3 separate regions of the Homo sapiens genome follow, and all the other regions are linked to region 3. Evidence: promoter capture Hi-C in human tissues and cell types (Jung and others, 2019). All regions are on one chromosome and are shown on one strand. The core of a region is centred on a gene start or on the middle of the fragment in contact, and the rest is flanking DNA. Distances in the headings are between cores, read along the strand shown.

Region 1 (3,590 bases), core at 390-2,889, 1.5 Mb after region 3:
GGCAGCAACTCGTATGACTTTTGATCCCGAAGGACGAGACTTATATCATGAATGGGAGCTTATGCCCCTTATCCCAAGCCACAAGGCCAGCTAATTCTCTCAGGACTTCTTAGAAGTATCAAAGTTCAAAGTCACCCCAAATGACCAAAAACTTGCAATATCCCATCTTTACCTTCTTTCCAGTGAAATCTCCTATTTTTGTGTGAATATAAACATGTTAAGAGCAGCCAGAGGCCGGGTGTGGTGGCTCACGCCTGTAATCCCAGCACCTTGGGAAGCCGAGGCAGGTGGATCATGAGGTCAGGAGATCGAGACCATCCTGGCTAACACGGTGAAACCCTGTCTCTACTAAATATACAAAAAATTAGCTGGGTGTGGTGGCGGGCGCCTGTAGTCCCAGCTACTCGGGAGGCTAAGGGAGGAGAATGGCGTGAACCTGGGAGGCAGAGCTTGCAGTGAGCCGGGATGGTGCCACTGCACTCCAGCCTGGGCGACAGAGCGACTCCCTCTCAAAAAAAAAAAAAAAAAGAGCAGCCAGAGCTGTGCCTCAAAGGAAACGTTATCAAACAAGCCTGTCCCTCATTTTATAATGTGTGCTTCTGAAATGCTGTATGCAGTGTTGAGTAGGGCTGATTATCCATTAGAATGACAGGGTGAATCCTTTAATAAAGTATATAAGCTTGCTTTCTCTCATTATTTCTTTATGTTCAGTGTTTTATAAGGAGAATAAAATGTTTATAAATGTTAGTTCTGGGCTGAAAGAGGGGCATACCTACAATTCAACTTAAGAGTTGATTAAAATTTAGACATGACTTTACAAGTTGTAAGGTAGGGTAGTGTATTGAGGACAGTAGGCCACTTTGATAACATTTTAAAAATATAGATAATTGTGGTTAAGTTGCAACTGACCTAGTAAACAGTATACATTTTACCAACACACATAATTAAGATGTAATATTCAATTCACAAACCAAGTGCCTATATGTGAATACAATCTTCTGAGAGTGCTTTTGAGTTCTAGATAATAATTTATCTTAAACAGTAAAATTATTTTACTTTAAATGTTACTTATATTAAACACTACACAGGTGCAAGTCACCTTTCTGCTAATAGTCTAATGATAACAGTGTCAGTGCAGTTTATATTACCACATATTCCAAATTAGAATCATAAAAACAAATGACATTCAGACTAAGGAGATTTTACAATGCTAGAATTTCCATTTTCTTTAATGGAAAGTAGTTTACTATGCAGCTTTTCAAAGTCAGGTTCTTGTACAGAATTAACCCTCTTTGAGCGTCCCTGTCAAGTAATTTGTTTCTTCTGTTTCAAATAAGGATGTATCTCCAGTGCATAAAATTTCTTCACCCAAGATTCAGTGAATTATAGTGCACCCCAGGCACAGTACTACATTTTGTAAGGGTGATGAGTAGAGCAGGACTGGATTCTGTCTTCAAGGGGAAAGTCCCCAGAACCCATACTTAGAATAAAATGACAGAGTCACAAATGGAGAAACACACACATTGGGAGTTGCACAAAGCTGTGGAAGTGTAGAGTGAGTGAAGACACAAACAAATACTTGTCATCTGCTCCGTTAGAACATGAAAGGAGAGAGCCATTTTGCTTAATGGTCAGTGAGAAGGTTAGAGCTCAGAGCCTGAATAAGAGCAAGGAAACAAAGTTATCAGTAATGTTAAAGAAAACCCTAAGAGAAGAAATGCACTTCCTGTGGAGAAAGACATCCAAAGCAGCCTGATTGAAGGCAGTGGAGGAGGGGGCTTCTCCGGGAATCCTGTTCATCATCATGCGTATTATTTGGAGTCCCAAAGTCAAAATCCTGCATATGACCACTAGGTAATTTGCACCTGATATTCAGTAAAGAATTATAAGTCTTATAAGTTCCTTAGCCTGAAGCCTGATGTTCAGTAAAGAATTACAAGTCTTATAAGTTCTTTAGCCTGAAGTTTCCAGGAGTATTTTTACTAGAGTGGGTTTTTAAATTTTGTTTTTGGAAAATCAAGATCCATTTTCTTTTTATTTGCTAGGAAGGAAAAAAAAAGCTGAATTAAAATACACAGGCTTTCCCGGAGAGTCCATACAGCTGTTTCTTCTAGCAACCGCAGCTGGGTCTGCCTCGAAAGCTTGCATTTGTGCAGAACCACCTCTGCCGCTCCCACTCCTCAGGGAATGCAGTAGTTGAGATTACACACAGAAAGCCCAGTAAACAGAACCCTGAGACCATTGGGAAACAGATTCCCGATGAAGAAATGTTTGCTCCTTTTTTTTCTTCTGAATGGCCTTCTATAAAATAGCCAAGTTCTGTTAAAGAAGGCGCTGATGACAGAATCATAGTCTAAGTTTAATACCTTCCGTATCATCCATCATTGTGCAGGCTCTTACAAAAGCATGTTTCTAATTCTGCTTTTTCTTTACAATGAATTTATGATGCAGATTATCAAACCATAATATATGAAAATCTACCATTAGAAGATGGCTCCTTATTTTAAAATGTTTCCTGTGTAATTAACCACTGTGTTAACTGCTTAACAGAAACCACCTTAATTTTTACAACCTCCTATAAATAGGCACTACTGTTTCAGCTAACCGAGACTTAAAAGATAGGTTACATAGCTTTCCCATCTCACCTAGCTAGCAAGTTTTCTGGTGAAGACTTGAACCCAAGTCTTTTAACGTTCTTCTCTATGGCCTCTAAAAACAATGTTACCATAAAAATGAGAAAAAGAGAGAGAGAAAAGTAAAAGGATTCACACAAGTGTCTTTTTGAAACAGTATACTTTATTCATGCATTTAAAATATTTTTATCTATGTTTTATGCACACAGTTTTTTACAATACAAGGTACAATTCTCTGAAATTTCTCAAGATAGTTAATAAACCCCTAGACTAGTAAATGACAGCCTGATACATAATTTCTTTTTTTTTTTCTTTTTTTGTCATCCATTACAAGCTCATGAGGTTAGACTGCTCCAGAGAGGGTCTGGAGTTTGTGGCTCTAAGGTCAGAGGGAATGAGCAGTGTTGGATGCAGAGATGCCCTTCTCATTTGTCCGCAGCTGCATCTTGTCCCATTACAAGTTTCTAGAAATCAGCCTTGTGGACCTACTTCCAAAAGGCTTACTCCAGTGTCTTCCTCTGATTCTTTCATTGAACGATCTCTCCTCAATGCACCCTGCCTGTGGCATGGCAGTTTGGGGGCATCGTTGCTTAAGGACATCTGCTGTGTAGCTGTAGTAGCAGCTGTGGAAACAGCCTCCCCTCTTTGAGTTTCACTCTGTTAATAGCAGTAATTGTTAGAAAGTAGTTTTCTTGTCGTATGAGATTGCAGCAGTGTCAATGTAGACCTTTAAGATTCACTCTGAGGTGGTCCCACCTCACACTGCAACCACCGAATTCCTTGTCTTAATAAAGGTATCTTTTCATTTATAAAATGCATCCCTGAAGAGAACAAATACATACTGACGACTGTGCAGCAGCCGATCACTTCCACATTTAATAACATTTCACATGGAGAGTCCTGACAAAGCAGGAACAGCAAATGTGTTCCCTGAGATTTGGTGTGTGGCACTGGTAT
Region 2 (3,419 bases), core at 224-2,723, 1.8 Mb after region 3:
CAATCAGTTGGCTGATCTTATGTCAGTGGGGACGGCCATACAGCGGTGGGCGCAAAACATCTCCCCCTGTGAGATAGCTGGATGAGCACAGTCTCCATCAGATGTGGTGTCCACAGGGTGCCCCAGAGATGCAGCAGGTGGTAAACTGTAAAGCTGTACTGCTGGCATTTAGACCAGACCTTTGTGCTTTTCTCTTGGAACTCGAGGGTTGAGCAACTCCAAAATCATCAGTAGAAGTAGATGCAAGCAGCACTTAGGTGGAACTCTTCATCTTGCGGAGGTGATGTCCACCCGTGATGGGTGGAAGAGAGCCTTGAGTCTCAGCGGAGGGTTTAGGGCTACGAGGAAACCGAGACCCCTTGAAGTCAGACCTTCTCCTGAGTATGAACTCTTATTTAGATTCCAGGTCTCCTCATCTCATTTTAGGGCCTCTTCCACCTCCACTTCCACTTCCTGTGCTTCAAGGTCATATTTTATCTCTCATAATGGTTAAAAACTTGGAAAGCAAGGGCCTTATGAAACATTATGTGTATTCAATTAATTGTATGCCAGATTCCTGTTAAATGTGTATACCACATCACAAATTCCTTTCTTCATTGCATCAATTCCACCTTTGCTGCTTCTAAAGATATGTTAGGCTTTCCTGTTCTGGTATCCAAGTATTTTCTACTTCACCACAAGCCCCTGGTTTCTAACCATTATACAGTCTTTTAACACAGTAAACTAAGCAATGTCAGTCTTACCTGTGGTACTTGTGGGTGTTGTTTTGTGTTGTGTTGGCCTTGCTCGTCATAGCTGTTTCCTTTGTGCCCCTCTGTGGGATGGCCTTTGTGCTTCCATGAGGGTGAGCCATGGGGAAAACATTCCAGAAGAATCTATTCTTGTTGCAGAGCAGGCCTGGATTGTCTGGGAGAGTGACAGACAAGCAGAGACATCAGAGGCCACATTCCCGTGTGCAATCTGCCATACTTTATAGGTCCTCAAACTGCCTTTCCTGTATTTTAATGCAGAACAAAGTACAGAAAACGTTCTTTGCCACTGCATAGCTGGATGTGCAGAGTATGCTAAGACTAGTGGCCCTCCAAGAATACAGGGAGGGGACGATAAGGGCAGCAGTTGTTCATGCTTTATGGAAAAGAGACGAAGCCATTCCCACCCCAAGCTGAAATTAACTTGGTGCACATTGTCACCAATTCCATGGAAGCCACTGTGGCAGACAGACCTCATGAAAGCAAACACTCTTCAAGGTGGGTCGTCTTGTTATAAAGCCATCTGAAGACGGCTGACCCAGCCTATTGTACTGAATTCAATAGCTTGGGTTTTAAATCTTGACCAATCACCTGCACAAAACTTTGCTTTAAAGACCCTCCCCTACCCCCTCCCACACATTCACCTCCCACTGTGCCAGAAAGAAATCCCTGCCATGGAACCCAAGCATTCATTCATGCAGGTCTGACCCCTGGGGTGTAGAAGATGCTGGAATGGAGGAACTATAAAGTGCTTCCAGTCAGGAGTTACTACAACTACCACCAGAGGACACATCCACCTATGTGTTGTCCAGCTCCAAGACCTAAATCCTCACCTTGGATAATAAGTGATGCTGACAAATATGCTGTATTCTATCTGCTGCTGGCCAGGTTAGCTCCAAGAGATAGGTGGCTGGTTAAGCACGGCTGTGGCCAGAGACTTCTAGAGAAGCAAAAACTGAAATCATCTATTACCAAAATAATTTGAAAACAAAATTATCTCTCTCCAACCAGCCAGAGAATAGGTAGATCTGAGAATAAAGAAGAATAAGGAAAAGAATTGTTGCAGCACAATCCTTGAAGAATGCCGTATACAGAGAGCCAAGCAGTAAGGAGAGAAGCATGTCAGACCTTTTTTTGTTCCACAAAGCTTTACTGAGAACCAAATCTTATTCTTCCTCTTACACATGTATATTTTTGAAAATTAAGATCTCTACAGTGACAAGTCTAGTCACATGTGTGTGGGAACTACTGCCGGCAGATACACTCTTCATTTGAAAACCAGTGGTTTTCTAGAATTTCCCAAGAGAATCTACTGAGTTATCTCTAAGGTCTTGCCAAACACTGGTGATAAGAGTTGAAGGAATCATAATATATTTTCACTTTTTCCATAAGAAGGGAGGCAGCATCACCTGTGGTTAAGAGTACAGGCTTTGGGGTTTGTCGGAACAGGATGAAAATTCTGATTCTATCACTTGCCACTTGTGACTCCTTGTGCAAGCCAGTGGTCCTAAGAGCGATGTGAGTTGCTGCTTAGAGTCTATGGTGGGTTAGGGAAGCGGATGATGGAAAGTACTTAATGCACTGCCTGATTCCTGAATGTGCTTCATCCATGGTCAAGTGGGGTGGCCCAAGGGGCTGCAGCTCCGATTGCCTCCGTTTAAGTCCTCCCACATTCTATGCCACCTATTATGACTATTGCTTGGAACGTGGACATGTGCTTTCCATGTCTACTTTGAGTCACTCATACATTCAATGAATATTTACTTAGCATCCACTGTATTTCAGACACCATGTTCTTAAGTGCACCACTACTTTCATTAGGAAGGAACAGAAGGCTTCCAGACTAGACGAAAGACTCTCAGTGAGAAATACTTCCCAGCTTCTCTCACTCCCAGGTCCCCTGCGCTGTGCTCTGCTTTGCAGGGCTCAACATTCATCTCTTTGGGCTTCTTTTTTCTGCCCTCATCCTCCCAAAAGATACCAGAGTATTCTTATGTCCTCTGTCTTTCTTTCTTAACAGAATAAGAATTGATCTTATAAATGCATTCATGCTAAAATATAAATAATTTGTAAGTTCAAAAGCATTAGCCTTTATCTGGATTTTTGCATTTAAACTGCAAGTGAAGCCCTGAGCCAGAAGAGACCTGGAAAGGTGGAATTCCATGGCACTCACGATGTGTCGCTGTCACCTTTACCACCGGTGAACCACTGACCTGTGTTTCAGAGACCGCCCTCCCCCTCTTGGGGTGTGAGTTTGGAGGGAGTGGTGGAGACTTGGCTTTGCTGTGTTTATCTTGAGCCCTGGGCCAGCCAGATTTCTCTTTCATTTACATTATAGCTGTGGTCGTTTTATTTATTGATTTTAGCCGGGGGTGGGGAATTTGGTAACGTCACTGAGTGTTGTCTTTTGGTTCTGTTCTAACTTGTAAATGTTATCTAGTTCTATTCTGTTTTCCACTTTATGTAATGTAGATCCAGGATCTCAATTATCTGAGCCATTAATCAGGTTGCAAAACCTTTCTCTTTCCCACGTGAAAGCAAAAAGGAAGAGTGGGACTTGTCTACAGATCGCCACCACACCTGTTAGTTGGATTTTTAGGATTGTCTGCTTCTCACATACAGTTCCCTCCCTCACTCTCCCTTTCTTTCCCCTTCCTTTCCCTCCCTTCT
Region 3 (3,203 bases), core at 406-2,905:
GTAGTTCAGCCTGGAAGCAGGTAGATTTCAAAGAACTGCAGCAACAGCTTGTCCATAACAGGTAGAGTCATTCACTCCTGGGATGAGCCAAGCTGGAAGGAATGTGTCCTAGGAGACTCAAGGTTTCCCAATGTTTCATTTGTCAACAGCTCATAAGCAAGTCACTTCCACTTCACACGACCTCACAGAGACCCCACACAGATGCATTTTGGATTTTGGTGAGCTGTTATAATAGTCAGAGGCAGGGACAGGCTCAGCCTGAATCCTGCTCAGAGGCCAACCAGGATTGGTTAGTGCGAGTCAGCCCACACCTCCTTCCCCCATGCTCCGGAGGAACAGTGGGTGTGTTGTGAATTCACTGGAAAAGTGGTTGGAAGGACGCATTCCAAACTGCTAAGACCTCCCCTCCTGGAAGTGGGACTGTGGTGTGGATGGTTCTGGAAGAACGCAAAAGATACAGGGCCCTGACCTTTAGGCCTAAGCGTGTTAATGACCATACACGAAGCAGGTGTTTCTCAGCGTCCCCCTGCCACCGCCCCGACTTGTACTGTGGGCTTATTTTTAAAGAGAAAGATGCTTCTAACCTGCAGTGTCTACAACAGCTCCCATTTAAGAACCCGGGATTGGAAGCTCATAGATTGCGTTTCGTAGCCGGACCGCTCCCTTTCACACATGTAGTCTCTCTGCCCGCCACACGTAGCACACACAGTGGGACCCGGCGCCGCTGAACGCCTGCACCTTCAAGCCCGCAAATGGTTCTCTATCCTTTTCCAGGTACTTGATCTTCAGAGAAACACGATCTCCCTCTTAGACCTTACTTTACAGTTGCTGCCACGCAATGACTTAGGATTTTACCAAGAATTGGCTTGGGTCTGTTGGGATATGAATATTAACCCAAGCAGGAAAATAGCCAATGCTGCCTGTTCGACCACGAGCGGGTGCGAAGCGCAGGGAAGACTCCTCAGGGTCCACCCGCCCCTTGTCCCCCCTGCTCCCCAGGCAGCGTCTCCGCCCTTGGACCCGGAGGCAAGGAGGAGCGCTTCTCCCAGCACCACCAACCTGGAGGGCTCCGCCGGACGGTTGGGGCCTCCCCTCGGAGACCAGAGCCCGCGCTTCCAGGAGGGGCCAAGCCTGGGCCCCTCCCGCGCCCAGCTCCCGTTGTGATTTCCAGGACCCCCAGAAGCCCGGTCCCCTCGCATCGCGGAAGCTTTGCTCGGGGTTCCTGGGACCGGACCCTCTTCTGCGCCCGCGACTGCAGCAGCGGCCAGAGATGCATGCAGCCACTCGCCAGCTGTCACCTGGTTTGCAGACGCCCGCGCACCTCGCAAGAGCCACACCTGGTACCTGTGCCCAGCTGCAAGAGGGTGAGGAGGCGCGGGACGGGATTGGGCTCTGCCCGCGGGCGCGGCTGGACGGCTTGGGCACCAGTGGGGCGGATGGGTGTGTGCGCGGGGTCGCGGAGCGCAAGAGAATGCGGGGAGCAGGGGGCTGAAGGGAGCGGGGTACGGTACTAGAGGCGCACAGGGGAATATGAGGCCACCGAACGCAAGGCGATTGGAAGCGCACGGCAATCAGGGGGACGCGGGGCACTCGCCTGATGAGGGCTCCTGCATAGTCCCGGGCGGCCTCCATGGCGCGGATCCCCTAGCGGGCCTGGAGGTCTGTCTGCCTGCACAGCCTCTTAAAGTGCGGCGGCCCCGCCCCCGCCCGCCTGCCAGCCCCGCGAAGGCCTGACTGGCGCAGGGGAGGACGTTTTGGCACGAGCTCTCCACCGCCGAGGATCGCGACTTCGCGCTCTGGGAGCCCCCGGTCGTCCTGGCTCCCGCAGCCTGGAGCCGCGCGTCCTTCGCTGCCTTGGGCCGTACCGAGGACCTTGGAAGCCCAGATGCTCCCCGGGTCTCTTTTGGTCACTTGCCAGCCTGTTCGTTTTGCACTTCTGGGGGTCGGGGCAGTTGGGGTCATAACCAATCCTGGCAGCATCACTTTGGCCGCGGAAAGACGGGTATGTGGATTTTAAACCCAGGCCACGGGTGGGGCAGGTGAGGAGACGGATGTGAGCGCCACTTGCCTCCAGCTCTGGAGTCCCCCAGAGCCCAGCCCCAGGCTCAGCGAGCCGCTGGTTCCCTGCAGGGATGCGGAAGCTGCCGCAGACACCGGGACCTGCAGCCCTTCAGGTTCTCCGAGGCGCCTGGGCTTCCTGCCCGCTGCGCTGCTCTCAAGGCCATGTCATGAGCATTTGGGGACAGTGAGAAGGGCATGCAGAACGGGAGGGGAAAGGAGCCTTTGGACTGCATGAATTGCCTTTTAGCTGTAGTAAGGGACCCTCGCAGAGTGAGGAGGCAAAGAGTGAACCCCGCTGGGGCTGGGGGACTTCCGTCCACACCCTGCTCTCATGGTTGTTCCCATCGGAAGACGCAATTAGGGCCTCTGAGACCTCCGAGGAAGGCGGGCAGTTACAAGGGGTTCCCAGAACCCCTCACTACAGGACTGAAGAGGTGGGCTCAGTGTTGAGGGGTGGGACTCGGGCAGTAAGAGGTGTAACTTTCTGGGATGGAGGCTTGCTAGGATATCCTCTCGTGCCCAACTGCTGACTGCCGCCTGGAAACAGCGTTTCGGGAGCTGCAGCGGGACCCTCGCCGGCTCCTCCTGAGCCCACCTGGTTTGAGCAGACTGACCTGATCTCTTAAGACCTGACCCTATGCCCGCCCTCTTCCTCCGCTGGCTCTCAGAAAGGGTCACCGTGGTCAACAAGCCTTGTGACTTGCAGGACTGTTGAAGCCAAAGGCAATTGCCTTCCAGAGTCAAGGACTCCGCCTGCTGGGAACACCCAGCTCCAGGCTCACAGGGGGCAGCTTCCCCCAGAGGCACTGAGCGGACACAGCTTTAGGAGGTCATTCACTGCCCCTCCCACTCACAGCCCCAATGTGATGGATGAGAAAATGGGTCCAATCAATTCAGGTCAACTTACCTCTAACCTTTTTATTGTGAAAAAGTTCAAATATAGAGATACATAGAAAGAACAGGGCTGAGGGTACTGGCTTACATCTGTAATCCCAGTACTTTGGGAGGCCAAAACAGGAGGATGGCTTGAAGCCAGGAATTTGAGACCAGCCTGGGTAACACTGTGAGACTACTATCTCTACACAAAAATAACGATAATTAGCCAAGCATGACGGCGAGCACCTGTAGTGCTAGCTACTCAG

What was found. Contacts are between HindIII fragments. The study calls those that stand out against the background at their distance.
Region 1: a contact is called between a fragment that was not itself captured here and the fragment with the promoter of CIDEA in region 3, in 1 of the 25 tissues and cell types used here (dorsolateral prefrontal cortex).
Region 2: a fragment that was not itself captured here is called in contact with the fragment with the promoter of CIDEA in region 3 in 1 of the 25 tissues and cell types used here (lymphoblastoid cells).

The regions. Positions count from the first base shown.
Region 1 is chr18:10,775,274-10,778,863 of GRCh38, reverse strand. All of the region lies in intron 18 of PIEZO2 (piezo type mechanosensitive ion channel component 2), which reads left to right. Among named protein-coding and RNA genes, the nearest start is that of MIR6788, 17 kb to the right of the region's middle. The HindIII fragment of the contact is 4,204 bases long and covers 1-3,590 here.
Region 2 is chr18:10,444,457-10,447,875 of GRCh38, reverse strand. No RefSeq gene overlaps it. Among named protein-coding and RNA genes, the nearest start is that of APCDD1, 8.5 kb to the left of the region's middle. The HindIII fragment of the contact is 8,236 bases long and covers 1-3,419 here.
Region 3 is chr18:12,252,813-12,256,015 of GRCh38, reverse strand. CIDEA (cell death inducing DFFA like effector a) reads right to left here and starts at 1,655. Exons shown (of 5, transcript NM_001279.4): 1 at 1,595-1,655. The coding sequence starts at 1,632. LOC105371996 (a long non-coding RNA gene) reads right to left here and starts at 1,003. Exons shown (of 2, transcript XR_935158.3): 1 at 585-1,003; 2 at 1-437. RefSeq lists an enhancer at 1,913-2,519. The HindIII fragment of the contact is 10,266 bases long and covers 299-3,203 here.